Regions from separate parts of the Homo sapiens genome. Here region 1 is linked to region 2. The links are contacts of gene promoters, found by promoter capture Hi-C in human tissues and cell types (Jung and others, 2019). All regions are on one chromosome and are shown on one strand. Each heading gives the region's core, a stretch centred on a gene start or on the middle of the fragment in contact. The rest is flanking DNA. Distances are from core to core; before and after follow the strand shown. Region 1 overlaps DNAI1 (dynein axonemal intermediate chain 1). Region 2 holds the start of ARID3C (AT-rich interaction domain 3C).

What was found. The method cuts DNA at HindIII sites, captures the fragments that hold promoters and counts their contacts. A contact is called where the count stands out against the background at its distance.
Region 1: a contact is called between a fragment that was not itself captured here and the fragment with the promoter of ARID3C in region 2, in 3 of the 25 tissues and cell types used here (IMR-90 fibroblasts, hippocampus and spleen).

Annotation. Positions count from the first base shown.
Region 1 is chr9:34,494,404-34,500,911 of GRCh38, reverse strand. DNAI1 (dynein axonemal intermediate chain 1) reads right to left here. Exons shown (of 20, transcript NM_012144.4): 10 at 3,713-3,797; 11 at 73-190. Among named protein-coding and RNA genes, the nearest start is that of ENHO, 25 kb to the left of the region's middle. The HindIII fragment of the contact is 6,320 bases long and covers 1-4,410 here.
Region 2 is chr9:34,627,555-34,635,081 of GRCh38, reverse strand. It overlaps ARID3C (AT-rich interaction domain 3C), which reads left to right and starts at 6,016. Exons shown (of 8, transcript NM_001017363.4): 1 at 6,016-6,165; 2 at 6,996-7,385. The coding sequence starts at 7,068. It overlaps SIGMAR1 (sigma non-opioid intracellular receptor 1), which reads left to right. Exons shown (of 4, transcript NM_005866.4): 4 at 1-360. RefSeq lists silencers at 5,898-6,057, 6,108-6,207. The HindIII fragment of the contact is 10,650 bases long and covers 1-7,527 here.

The DNA.
Region 1 (6,508 bases), core at 1-2,500, 130 kb after region 2:
AAGGGGGTACTGGGGGTTTGGGATGTAGAGGGCACTCAGGGGCTCTGCATTTGCTGCAATGCCTATACTTACCAGCAGAGGGCAGTGACGGACAGGCGCTTGGCTTTGTCATTTTGGAACTTCCAGAGCGGCAGCAGGGTACCCACCTGGTCCCGGTATTCATCAGCAGCATCGTCATAGTACTTAAAATCTTAAACACACACAGGCAGAGTCAGCCCTGGGACTGCCGCTTTATGGCAAACCCAGGTCCACCACTTACTGTCTGTACCTCCTTGGGCAAAACAATGAGCCTCTGTTTTAGAGTGGGAATAATACTACTACCTATCTCAGAGTTCTGTTGTGAGGATATATGAATTGAGTTAATATATGCAAAGAGCTTAGAAAAATGCCTGGCACATAGTAAGCTCTATGTGTTAGCCATTGTTACTGTCGTTGTTGTTGGAGGTACATTACAATACACCGGCCATGTCTACATGGATAAAATCCCAGGTTCGCAGCCCTTGTTCCCATGTGTTTCCCTAGCATTTCAGGAGGCTCTGTTTGGAGGAGCCAAATTTCAAGGGTTCAGCTGCCAAGGGCTGATTAATAGTTCCATTAATTCTGCCTCCTAAATCCCTAAAATGCAGCCCATTTTCATATCCACAGCCAAGTCTCCCTATAATGAAGCTGCCTAGATCCCCCATGGGTTCTCTGAACCCAACTTCATCTCCTGCCCACAAAATTGTCTCTGCCTTCCACTTTCTTTAAGTTAGATAGATGCCCCATCCTCCCACTTGTCTAAACCAGAAATGAGTAATCCTTGACTGATCTGTTTCCATAATTTCTCATATTTTTCTTCTATCTTTTTAATTCATTCGCTTCTCTCCAAACCCATAGCCCCTGCCCAGGTTCAGGCCCCAACATCCATCACCTGTATTATGACAACATCCCTCTAACTGGTCTCCTACCTCCAGTAACTCCTTCTCCAACCCTTGTTTCACAGAACAACCAGTGTGAGTACAAACAAGGCACCTCACGACACCCCTTTCCTCACTCCACTGAAACCCCCTCAATGGCTCTCCTTGCAGAGGAGATTAAACCAAGAGGAGATCCACGTTATTTCTAGTCAGCTGTCCGTGTCCCCTCCATATCAAATCATGCCAATGAGTCCAGTTGTCTCCTGTTTTGGGTGTTTCTACATCGTTTTCCATGTCTAAGATGCCCTGTTCTTCCTGGCAAACTCCTACTCACTCCAGATCCAGATCAAACTCTTTCTCATCTGTAAGGCCTTCATTTTCTTTTGAGCAGAGTTAATTTCTTCCTCTGTTCCAGCCCTGCCTCTCCTCTACTGAAACATCTGTCACACTAGATTGCCTCTATCCTTTTGCCTGTTCTCCCCCACCAGACAATATCTGGAGAGCAGGACACACATATATTCTCTGGGTCCCCAGTGCCTAGCACAGGGCCAGCCACAAAACAGACAACCAACAACTGTTTAAAGAATGCAGTGAAATTCATTAACAGAAGTGAAGTAGTTCTTGATCTTCTTTAGACAAAGGGTGACCAATTAGAAAATGAATCCTGTCATTCAGTGAAGCCAAGAACATGCCCAGGCCTGACATCTCCTATAGTGCCCATACCTTGAGGTTGTGGGACTTCACTCAAACCTCAAAAATGTCTCAGAACAAAAAAGATTCAAGTGGTCAGAGAGGCGTGAGCCTTGATTACATCAGAGATTACCCCGCTTGGGTTATCTTTGAAAATACTTCAATTCAGAGCAGAGATTAATTGGTAACACTTCTCTATTTTCATGTCTCCTTCATGATTACACTTTCCCAAAGGGAAAGGAGTATGCAATTAAAAAAATCAAAGTTCAATACATTTTTATGTGACTGTGTTCTTATAAATGAAAGTGGTTCACCAAGGCCAATTTCTCCATGGATATTAATCAGGTTTGCAGCCCTTTGGTGGGCCACTTGCAGAGGCTGGGTTTCAAGAAGCCACGCTGTGTGAGTGACAAACTCATTCACAGCTGTTGTGTACTTTGACAGCTTTGAAAAGCACTCAAGGTCGTTTTCCAGCCTGAATGATAATGAGGGGGCTTGTTTAGGTGGCTGGTTTTGGCAGCCCTGGTTTCTGTGTCCCATGGGTGAGCAATGAGCATCAAGTCACCAAGAAGAGCCCTAGGCTGTCAGCAAAGGAGACCAGCCAGCATCGAGGAGCTGCCAACTCTGGGAAGGCAGCTGCTCCAAATAAATGCACAACCTCTTAGGGAAATACAAGCCACTTGGGAATGTGCTGTTCATGCCATGGGAAGGATTCTGTTTCCCTGACACTGTCAGACACCAGAATTTCCCAGGCCCCCAGGATTTAAGCATTTCTGAATCAATCTCTTTCTTCAACTCATCACTAATTAATCACCAGGATAGATCTATTGAGTGTGTTTATTTGAAATGTCTCTTCCGGCTCAGTGGCTTTGCAGCCTAGCGGCGAAGTGCTTAGGTGATGGATCCAAGGGGCCTGTGTTCGAGTTCTGATTCTGCCACTCACACTTCACACTAGCTGTGACTTTGAAAAAGTGGCAACATCCCAGCCTGAGTTTCTCATCTATAAAATGGAGATAATAATGGTATTCACCTCACAGTGTGGCTGTCAGGAACAAACAAAATAATAACATGTAAATTGCATAGCACAATGCCTGACACACAGGCTACTCCCAGTGAATGCTGGAGCTTGTTTCTCACTATTATAACTGTTCCCTTTTCTCCATTCCTTAAGACACAGGCTAGGTCAGGTGTGGTAAGGCCCATTCCACCCCACATTTGAGCCTCACCTCCACCTCTGCCCTATATTCTACACAATCACATCCTCCTCCAGCCTTGCTCTCATCGGGCTGTGTCCCTGCCTAGAAAGTTTCAGTTCTCTGAACTGTCTGCAGAGATAGGTCACATTCCTTGCATGATATTCAAGGCCCTTCATTAATGGGCTCCAACAACCTCTTCCGCCTGAACTCTCACCTCTTTTCAATGAAGATCCTGTTTGGGTCAGGGAGCCTGCTGTCCCTTGTCCCCAGAGTCCATTCCTATTCGGTTTCACTGCCAAGACACTGCTCATGCCATCCCTGTCCAGAACATCCTCCCTGTAGCTATCTTCTCTCACACACTCTGCTTCTCCCTTGGCATCTAGCTAAGCCCTCTCCAAAGCCTTCCATAACTACTCCCACTCATCCCTCACTTTCCTTCTCTCCTATGTGAGGATCCCCAGAGTGGTTTCTGTCTACCCCATACATTCTGGCATTTATAGCATTCCCAAGGTGCTCTGAGTAGAGGACAGAGCATAGAATGAGGAAGATCGAGACCTCTATTTGGGTCCTCTCTGCCACTCACTAGTCAGGTGGCCTTAGCCTTAGCTTCCTCATGTGTACAGTATGGGCAAGTCTCTGCTCTGCCTGCCTCCCAGGGTTATCAGGAAGATGAGATTGGATCACCCATGTGCAGGTATTCTTTGCTGCACCACTTCCAGATCTCATCAGTATACACATTGTTTCTTATGCCATCAGTCATGGTTAATCCACATAAGTCTTGTCTCCCCAGTGACATCCAGAGGACAGAGGGATTATTTTTTCTCCGCTTGCACCTATAGGAGCTAGCAAGAGACACCCAAATAACCCAAGCTTTTATGAGAAATTTTTAATACAGGCAATAATAGTGGTTGCCAGAACTTCAACTCTTACCTTGAGCAATGTCATCATATGTATTCTGGTTGACCATCCGCTCCATGATCTTAGCAGCTTGGGACAATTTGATGAGATCATCAGTCTGTGGGGATACAGAAACTTCAGGTCCTCATAAACCAGCACTTAGCAAGGTCATATGTCCTGAGCCATGTCACCCTTGCAATTGATTCAGCAGTAGCTCTCTGGCACTACTCACCCCAGATAGCTCTGTAAAGGTTTCTCTGCATGTCTCAAGGCCCAGCTCATGCCACTACCCTCTTCTAGGAACTCCTACCTCACAAGTGGCACAAAGGGTCTGAGCTGATATACTTGGCCCCTGGGTAGAACCTGCTTCATGCTTTCATTCTGGACTTGTTTTGGAGAAGGCCTATCTCTGAGCACAAGACAGGGCATTGAAGAGAGCCCAGGAAGGGTCTGCAGGGGAGAGCAGACAAGGGCAGGTTGGAGCCTTCTTTGGTGGAGACAGAAAAGTTTTACCAGCTCAGAGAGTGAAAGACTCCCATTAAAGGCCTCAAAGATCATGTGGTTTTATCCCTTACTCAGTTACAGGCTGAGGAAGGCACCAAGGCCCAAAGAGGGGAGAGACATGCTTACATACATGGAGTACAAGGCAGAACTGAGACTCCTAATTCCAGGCCCTCCCCACAGCCCAGACCAATGAGAAAGCAGGAAGCTTAACTTCAGGAAAACGTGACTCATCTTGAACCAAAAGGAAGCTTGCCATTGTGTGAAATTCCATAAATCCCCAAGATGAGGTGCTTGGCAGGTTGACAGAAGAGCAAAGAGTTTGGGACTAACAGGAAAGGCCCAGAGGGCTTAGGGCAGGTGGCAGGAGTGAGCCAGCTGAATGGGCAGCCCTCCAGGGTAGGGTCAGGGGGCCAGGCCCATGGCTCCCAAGGATTCGATGTCTCAGAAACAGCAGCGTCAGGTAGCGGTTAAAAGGATGGGTTCTAGAGCCGCACAGACCTGCACTCCTATCCCATCCCACCAAAATTAGAACCCGGTGGCAACCTCTGGCAAGTTATTTAGCTTCTCTGAGTCTTAGACTCCTCCTGGTAAGTGGGGGCGGATGGTGGCATCTGCCTCATCAGGTCATTGTGATGGTGAAATGTGATAATACATGTTAGTGTCTAACCCAGTTCCCGGTGGTGATGGTGTCAGAGGAAACATGCAGAGTAGTGCAGCGAAGGGTTATGAAGTCACTTCTGGGGAACTGACCTTTGAGGACCTTTTGCCACGCCTGAAAGAGACTCCAAGTTTATCTTTGAAAACTGACCAAGAAGGGCATTCACTGGAGTCTTGCAGTCACGGACCTCAGAGTTCACCTGGTTCCAGCTACGCTCTCTATTCTCTGACCCAGAGCAGGAATCCTCTCCCCTTAGCAGCTTCCTGGTAAGTGTGACTCTCCCCAGGTCAGGCAGTGTTTTCTGTGGCCAGATAGCCAGTTAACTGAAACTCCCTCCCTGCATCTTCTACCTATGGGCCCAACTCTGTCCTCTGGCCACAAGGAATTGGATGCTTGGTGAGAGCTCCTTTGAGGTAGGAGGACACAGCCACATGCCCTCAAGTCAGCACTTCCTCGGGTGACTCCTCCCAGCTCCATCAGTCATGAAATGGCATATCAATAACAATAGCTACCATTTATTGATCAGTAGCACAAAAGTGTTATGTTAGGGGCTGCACCGTATTATCTTGGGTTCTCATGAAAATCTTGCAAAGTAGGTATCATTAGGGTATCTTTACAGATGAAGAAACTGAGGTTTCAGAAAAACTGAGCTAACAAATGGCAAAGCCAGGATATAAATCCAGGTCTGTAGGTTCCAGGGTCCATGCTCTCAGACCCACACAGTGAGCCAGTGCCTCCCCAGTCTGACCACTCCTCTCCTGGCCCTGGGAGATGCAGGTTTCCAGTTGTGTTCTGAGGAGAGTGTTGTGGGCTGTCACCTCCCTTGTCCCAGATACTATGCTACTGGAGCAGCCACACATCTTTATTAGTTCTCACTGAACTTGCAGCCTGTGAGCCCTTTCCTCCTTTCCTACCTAATTATTCAGATCAGACAAATGTGCATTGATTTCTGTGCATTCACTCAAATCACTAATGAGACAGAGACCTGAGGTCCACCAAGGAGGCCCTTCCTATAGGATATCATGAAGTTTTTATCTTTTCTCCCCTCCAGCACATTTGAGTTTTCTACCCACATAATCAGACCCCATTCTTTGAGGAAGGGGTGTCACTCTGTTCAACCACTGGGCCTGGGCAATGGGGAAGGTGACTGCCTTTCCCACTGTGTTGCACAGACAGCCTGGCCCAGTACTTGGGATTTCTAATTATTGCCTTGGGGAGAGGGTGCACACCAAGGCATTCACTAGGTGGGGCTGGGGGAGGGTGTCCTGCCTCCCATGTGGACTCTTGGTCCAGAGGGCTGGAATCTGCTTGTACCATAGTCTTCCAAGTCAGCTAAGCTGGAAGAGTCCAGTGTGATGGAGAGAGATGGTCCCTCATCCCTGAGGATGTTAGACACCAACTCTGCAAGGCTTAGAAGACACAGGTCAGATTCTAGTCTCAGTCACAGGGACTTTTCTTCTGGTTTCTAGATCCTGGTGATTATAGTTGAGGTTTCTGCAACCATGGGTCCCAGTACAGAGCTTATAACCCCTGATGGATCTTCATGTGAACCCTGACCTAGGCCAGTGGCCCCTGTGAAGCCTCTAACCTCTAGAGAATGGATCAGGGGAAGCCAAGGGTCTGCACAGAGTAGCAGGGCAGGGGCTCCATCTTTCACCTCAGAGTTC
Region 2 (7,527 bases), core at 4,767-7,266:
CTATGCAAGTGCCCCTGTGGCTTGTCCCCAACCCCCTCAGCAACAAAGCTCAGCTGGGGAACGAGAGTAATTTGAAGAATGCTTGAAGTCAGCGTCTTCCATTCCAGAAAGACCCCCATTCTTCCTTTGGGGGTATGATGTGGAAGCTGGTTTCAGCCCAGGACCCACCACTGAGGAGAGGATCTAGACAGGTGGGCCTAATTCCAAGGGGCCCTTCCTGGCCTGGAGAAGGCCTTTTACACACACACAACACATACACACACACACACACACACACATATCACAGTTTTCACACAGCCCCTGCTGCATTCTCTGTCCATCTGTCTGTTTCTATTAATAAAGATTTGTTGATCTGTTCCATCTTTTTGTGTGTCTGAGCAGCCGGAAAAAGCCTCTGACCCCTGGGGACCTCAGGAAGATCTCTCTCTTGCTGTGTGATTCATGGTAGATTTTTTTTTTTTTTTTTTAAGAGATGGGGTCTCCTCTGTTGCCCAGGCTGGAGTGCAGTGGCACAGTGACATGATCATAGCTCCCTGCAGCCTTGAACTCATGGTCCCAAACAATTTTCCTGCCTTAGCCTTATGAGTAGCTGGGACCTTATGAGTAGCAAATGCCACCATGCCTGGTTAGCTTTTTAAATTTTTTTTAGAAATGGGGTCTTGCTATGTTGCCCCGGCTGATCTCCAGCTCCTGGCCTCAAGTGATCCTTCCTCAGTCTCCAGAGTAGCTGAGATAACAGAAACAAGCCACCATGCCTGACAAGACAGTGGCTTTTGACTAGTAGGGACTATATACTTGAGTGTGCCTTAGAATCACCTAAGACACTCTTTGAGTCAGTAACTCAGACTACTGAGCTCCATTGCCAGAGATCAACATGTTCAATAAGATTTCTTCCAACACAGCTGCGAATGCCACAATTTGAGAAATTCAGGGCAGGGTGACCTGGAGTGTGTCTTGGTCTTACCTCTGCCGGTGCAATCCTGGGAACAGTCCTAAGAATCTTCCCCTGGCTGACCACAGGGTGGCAGTGTGCACCCACTTTTTAGCTGAAAGGCATAGTTCTCAGTTGGCTTTTTTTCTGGGCTCCCAGAGTAGTGTCTGCCCCCACCCAAAACAGGAGATCCTCCAGTCTATGGTCTGCCTTCTCCAGGACCCACCACTAATGTGGAGGCTCCCACAATGAAAGGAAGGCACACTACCTGGCAGTATGTGAGGTAGGTAGGGCCTGGACTCAGGTAAGGCAAGAGAGGTGCCTAAAGTGCATTCATTCCCAAAGACCCTGCTCTTGCCTTAACTTCTGCATTTTACACACCAAGCATGCCTCACCCTCGTCCTGGCCCTGTTCTGAGGGTAAGGCATAGATCACTCCTGCTTCTCAGGATTCCTGGTATTTTAAAAATGGAAGAAACATGGTTATAAAAATTAGATATTTTAACATTCTAAAGAACACAAATCCGAAAGACTATATGTATAACTGCATTTAGAAACAACATCAAAAGTCAATTTGTGACTGAATGTGGAGTCCAGGTAAGTTGGCCAACCTGAAACCGACTCTTCACCCCCAATACCACCGTGTCAGGCATAGTAGGCCCTGGCTGGCTCCTCTCCACTCACCCCAGGTTGCAAATCCATGCCTCCTGGGGGATTCCTACTCTGTAACCCAGCTCTGCCTCTAGGCTCAGAGCCCACATGTCAGGGATGACCCAGCTTGCCCTGTCATTCCTCCCAAACGTCCACAAAGGACTAGGCTCCCAGGCCCCTCCTAATCTCTGCTGCTAAATCCGTTGGTCGTTTCATAGTTCTTAGCTTTCATTTGACACAGGGTAATCACTCTGAAGGCACTCTTAGTTTCTGGGACACTACTCCTCCTTAATTGCCTCCTTTACTGGAATTTTTTTTTTTTTTTTTTTTAGTAGAGACAAGAGTTTCACCACGTTGGCCAGGCTGGCCTCAAACTCCTGACCTCAAGTAATCCGCCCATGTTGGCCTTACAAAGTGCTGGGATTACAGGTGTGAGCCACTGCACCCAGCTACTGGATTCCTATCTCCTCATTCTCTGACTTTCTTGGGCTTAGTCCTCAAACCTCTTCTGTTTACACCCCTTCCCAGGTGATTCTGTGACTTTACCATCTATATATCTTGACTTCTAAATTTTTGTCTCAGCCTAAATCTCTGCCCTGAGCACCAGAGTTGGAAATCTTACTGCCTTCATCTCTACTCAACATCTCCACTTGGCTGTCTAATAGGTATCTCAGACTTGAGATATCCAAAGCAAACCGAATTCTCTCCCAGCCCCACACCACCACCATCCTGTAGTCTTTACTGTGAATTAAGGGCACCTCCATTTACCCAGCTGCCCAGAGTCATTTTGGACACATCTGTTTCTCTCATGTCCCACATCCAATCCATCATCAAATACTGTTTTTATCTGCAGAATATATCCAGACTCTAATCATGCCTTCTCACCTCCACTGCCCCCACCCTGGTCTAAGACACCATCATCTCTTGCCTATAGACTATTGCAATGGCCCCCTAACTGATCTTCACGCATGCATCTTGTGTGGAGGGTTCTCCACGCAGCAGCCAGTCAGACTTTCACTCTCTGCTGAGACCTAACCAGTGGCTTTCCATCTCATTCTGTCCTTTCACTCCTTACAAGGGCCTACTCCAAGGCCCATGTTTCCTCTGATCAGACATTCCAACCACTCACCCCTTCAGCCCCCCTATTCCAACCCAGTGGCCTCCTTGCTTTTCTTCCAACACATCAAGCAAAATTCTATCCCAGGATATTTGTACCTGCTATTCTGACCGTAGTGCTCGTCCCTAGGTATCCACGTAGTCATAGCTCTCTTCCTCCCCTCCTTCAATTCCTGCTCACTGAGTTCTTCAACACTTATATAATAGTATCTCTTGCATGGTGATTTGAAATACCTTCACAAAATTTTTGATGCTCTGTCCTTCAAGAGGTGAAGCCTAAATTCCTTCCCCTTGAGTGGACTAGACTTAATTATGTACTTTCACAAATAATGTGGCATAAATAACAGTGTGTGACTTCTAGGACTAGGCCATAAAAAGCATTGCTGTCTAAAGAGTCTCTCTTGGATCATTCTGGGGGAAACCAACTGCCATGTTGAGAGGACATACAAGCAATCCTATGGAGAGGCCCATATTGCGGGGGGAACAGGCCCCCTGCCAAGGGCCATGCAAGTGAGCCATTTTGGAAGTAGATCCTCCAGTTCCAGTCAAGCCTTCAGATGACTGCATCCCTGGCCAACCTTTTTACTACAACACCTTAGAGGACAATGAGTCAGAACCATCCAGACCCACAGAATTGTGAGAAAATAAATGTTTTTGTTTTAAGCTGCTAAATTATGGGGTGATTTGTTACACAGCAATAGGTAACTAATGCCCCCTTTTATGTTCCCCCCAACCCAGCTACATTTTTCTCCATGGTACTTACCACTATCTGACACACTGTATATTTCCCCCACTTAGAATTGTACCATTATAATAAGGACTTTGTCTTATTTGCTCCTGTGTCCAACAGTGCCTGGCAAAAAAAATAGATAATAAATATGTGTTGGATGAATGAAGCATGGGTCTCTGAAGGTCTAGGTCTGTCTCCGTCTCTGTGAGGTATAAGACCAGACTGCGGGTATGAGAGGCAGCCTTTCCTTTTCACAGATGAAGAGAGATAAACCAAGTCCCAGTCAAGCATATTCCTTCCCCTCAGCCCTTCCCAGTTGTAGCCCTCCTGGCCCAGACCCCAAAAGTGGATTAACTTTGCTTGATTGATTTGGGAGCTGGGGGAGTGACTGCCCAGCCCCTTACCATTCAACCCAAACCCTACAAAGCGATCTCCAAACACTCAGAACTGGAATTTCCCCAAGCCAATTCCTACCTTTCTAGGAAGACTCTGGCCACCTACCTTTGTCCATGGACCTCCTCTGAGCAGCCAGGGGAAGCTGTGGTGGGGAAAAGGGAGCAAGCAGGGCACAAGGGTTCTGTGGATTGCTACCCTCTGCTCTCCAGTCTTCCAGTAGACTTCCAGGGCATGTCTGTCTGCCTGGCACATTCACTGATTCTCCCCTCCCAGCATCAGGGAGGGTTGGGCAGAGGAGGAGGCTTGGCTCTGCCCCAGGATACTCACACCAAACAAAGCCATGGGGGAGGAGGCATCAGTACCGACAGTGATTGGATCACTGGAGCTTCTGGAGGCTGGGGGGTTCTGATGGGCTCAGAGGTCTGAAATCTGAGGTGGAGGACACTGGGGCAGCCAAAGGAATGAATGGGGTGAGCCTCAGCGTGGCCAGGAATGGGCCATAGAGAACCAGGACTTAGTGCTGCAGTAGAAGCTGGGCACAGAAGGGTGCAGAGAAGGGTGGCGGCTGGAGGCAGGGAGAGCAGGGAGGAGGCACCCACCATGGTCAGACCCACCATGGTCAGAAGAGCCGGTGGTTTGAGCCAGAGCAAGCTGAGGCTGAGAGGAGTGGACTGATTGGGAGAGGACAAGGGAGGAGGGAGGAGACAAAGGTCGTGTTTGGATTCCTGCCTTCTGGGGGTGTGAGGTCAGAAGACAGTCTCTGGTGCCACAGTTTCATACCTATGCCAAGTGTCACCCCTACAGACACCTGCTGTTCACTTACACACTTGGCATCACCTCACAGTGTCCCTCTGTTTGGTAAGTGGTCCCCTTGGGCACAGGAAGAAATAGGAAGTATGAGGATTCCCGGGAGGAGTGGGGTCCAGGCTGTTCAGAGCAGAAATTCTGAGAGGCCTGCCACTCAGAACCCCCAAATAAGGAACAGCATTTCAGCGTCTTGGGAATAGTTAGGGGGAGGGCGCAAAGCAGTGGGCTGAGGGGGTCTGGAGATACAGATGTGGCAGTCAGGCACACATAGGTGGAGAATGTGTGTGAACATGGGCGAAGTGCCGGTCACTGTTGAAACAAACCTATGATGAGTACCAGAGGTTCATTATACTATTCACTTGTCTATGTTTCAAAATTTTCATAATACAGGCTGGGTACGGTAGCTCATGCCTGTAATCCCAGCACTGTGGGTGGCCAGGGTGGGTGGATCACTTGAGGTCAGGAGTTCGAGACCAGCCTAGCCAAAATGGTGAAACCCCATCTCTACTAAAAAGACAAAAATTAGCCGGGTCTGGTGGTGGACGCCTGTAATCCCAGCTAATTCCAGCTATTCGGGAGGCTGAGGCAGTAGAATCACTTGAACCTGGGAGGCGGAGGCTGCAGTGAGCCCAGATCGCGCCACTGCACTCCAGCCTGGGTGACAGAGACTCTGTCTCCAAAAAAGAAAAAAAAGAAAAGAAAGAAAAAGAAAAGAAAAGAAAATTTCCATAATAGAATGTCAAAAGAGACAAAAACTGTGTGTGGCTGTGTATCTGCATGCGGTGAGTGTGCAGTCAGCTTAAAGACCTCTGAGAGTGTGTGAGTGCATAGGTGTGGGTCCACCACCATGTGCACTCATGTGTGCAAACCGCAGCATGCCCGCAGTGGGGGACAGCACGTAGGCAGGGCAGGGGTGCTCAAGGCAAAGGGAGAAGCTTCTATTCTGACCAGACCCTCCACGCACACCCCAGCATCTTGCAGAGGGATTCCCCTCTTGATCACAGCGTGCCCAGGCCATTGGCACTGTGGTGACCATGTCACGGAACGTGTGAGACTGGGAAGCTATGCGCCTGAACTTGTGACAAGGTGTGTTGGTGTGTGGATGCGGCTATTTGTATGTGGAAGCCCAGTGCCGAGTGTGGGTGTCGGGGGCACGACTTGTGAGGCTGGGCGGGGCTCTGGTCCGGAGTCCGGTGGCGGTAGAGCCCTCATTTTCGCACGATTCCCCCGCAGCTTTCCAGCGCCCCCTGCCCCCGAAGCTGGCTGGAAAGAAGGTGGGAGACACCTGTTGGGGAGCTGAGAGCGGCAGATCCCACAGGGGCCTCTCCCCATGCGCCCCGCCCGCCCTGCCCCGCTCGGGTCCCGCCCCCGCGGCCGCCGCAAGCAGCGCGGCGAGTGAGCGCACAGCCGCCAGAGGAGCACAGGGCGGCGGGAGCGCACCGCCGGGACCCAGCCGAGGCCAGGGCCGCCTGGGAGGCGGGCGGAGCAAAGGCAGCGCCGTGGAGACGCCAGGGGCAGCGGGCCACGCCAGGCAGGTGAGTGCGGCCGCGGGGCGCCCGGAGCGAGGGAGCCGGGCGTCGCGACTCTGCCGCCTCCTGCCCGTCCGGTCCCGTGCCCGTCCCAGGCTCTGCCCCACCGCCCTCCATCCCCGCGACTCCTTGGTCCCTGTCCTCTGCCCCTCTCTCCGGCTGTTTTTCCCGTCCCTGTCTCTGTCGGTCCCTCTCTATTTAACTGTCTCTTTCTAATCTCTCTCTTCTGTCCGTTTCCTGCTGTCTTGGTCTTTCCCTATATCTCAACCCCTGTCTATTTGTCTATCTCCGCCTCTGTCTCTCCGTCTCTGTCCGTCTCTGAGCTACCTGTCACTTAGGTCTTTTATCTGTTGCTCCTCTACCTCTCTTACCCTCCCTGTCTCTCTACCCAATATTCTATCTCTCTCCATCTCTGTCTGTCTACCCTGTCTCTGCCTGATACCTCTGCCTCTCTCCATCTTGGTCCCTCTCAGTCTCTGTGTCACCCCACTTCTGTCTCTCCTTGTCACCCTGTTCCATCTCTATTTTCACATCTCCCTGTCATTGTCTCTGTCGGACATCCCCCTTCTCCTTTTCTTTCTCTCTCCCTTCCTTCACCATTTCCCGATGTCTCTTGGTCCCCGTCACCCTCTCTGATCTGCTCACTCTTCCAGTCCTCAGTCAATGGCCATTTGATTCCCCGGGTCTGGTCCTGTTTCTGTTCACCTCTGGGAAAGCCATCTTTCTGCCTCTTTCCTTGTGACCCCTGCACTTCCCTGAATCCATGACCACCTCCCCCTGTGTTGGGGGGCTCTGGGGGCAGTAGGGCCCAGCACCCATAATTCCCTCCCCCACAGGCGGCCCTTTCCTCGGGGTCCCGCCTGGTACCAGGGACCCCCTCAGCTGGGGGACTGCGCCTGGAAGCTGTCATGGAGGCCCTGCAGAAGCAGCAGGCAGCTCGGCTGGCCCAGGGGGTGGGGCCATTGGCCCCTGCATGCCCGCTGCTGCCACCGCAGCCTCCCCTGCCTGACCACCGGACCCTACAGGCCCCTGAGGGGGCCTTGGGGAATGTTGGGGCTGAGGAAGAGGAAGATGCTGAAGAAGATGAGGAGAAGCGGGAGGAAGCCGGGGCAGAGGAGGAGGCAGCTGAGGAGAGCCGTCCAGGGGCCCAGGGCCCCAGCTCGCCTTCTAGCCAGCCCCCTGGACTCCATCCCCACGAGTGGACCTACGAGGAACAATTCAAGCAGGTAGGACCTATGCCCTCAATGTCCGGCCCTCTTCCCTATCTCTCTCTTCTGGCAAAAGCACAGCCAGGTGATTAGCAGCCCACCCACCCCCACCACCCTCTGCAAGATGAAAAGAGACACAGAGACACGGAGACCTATAGAA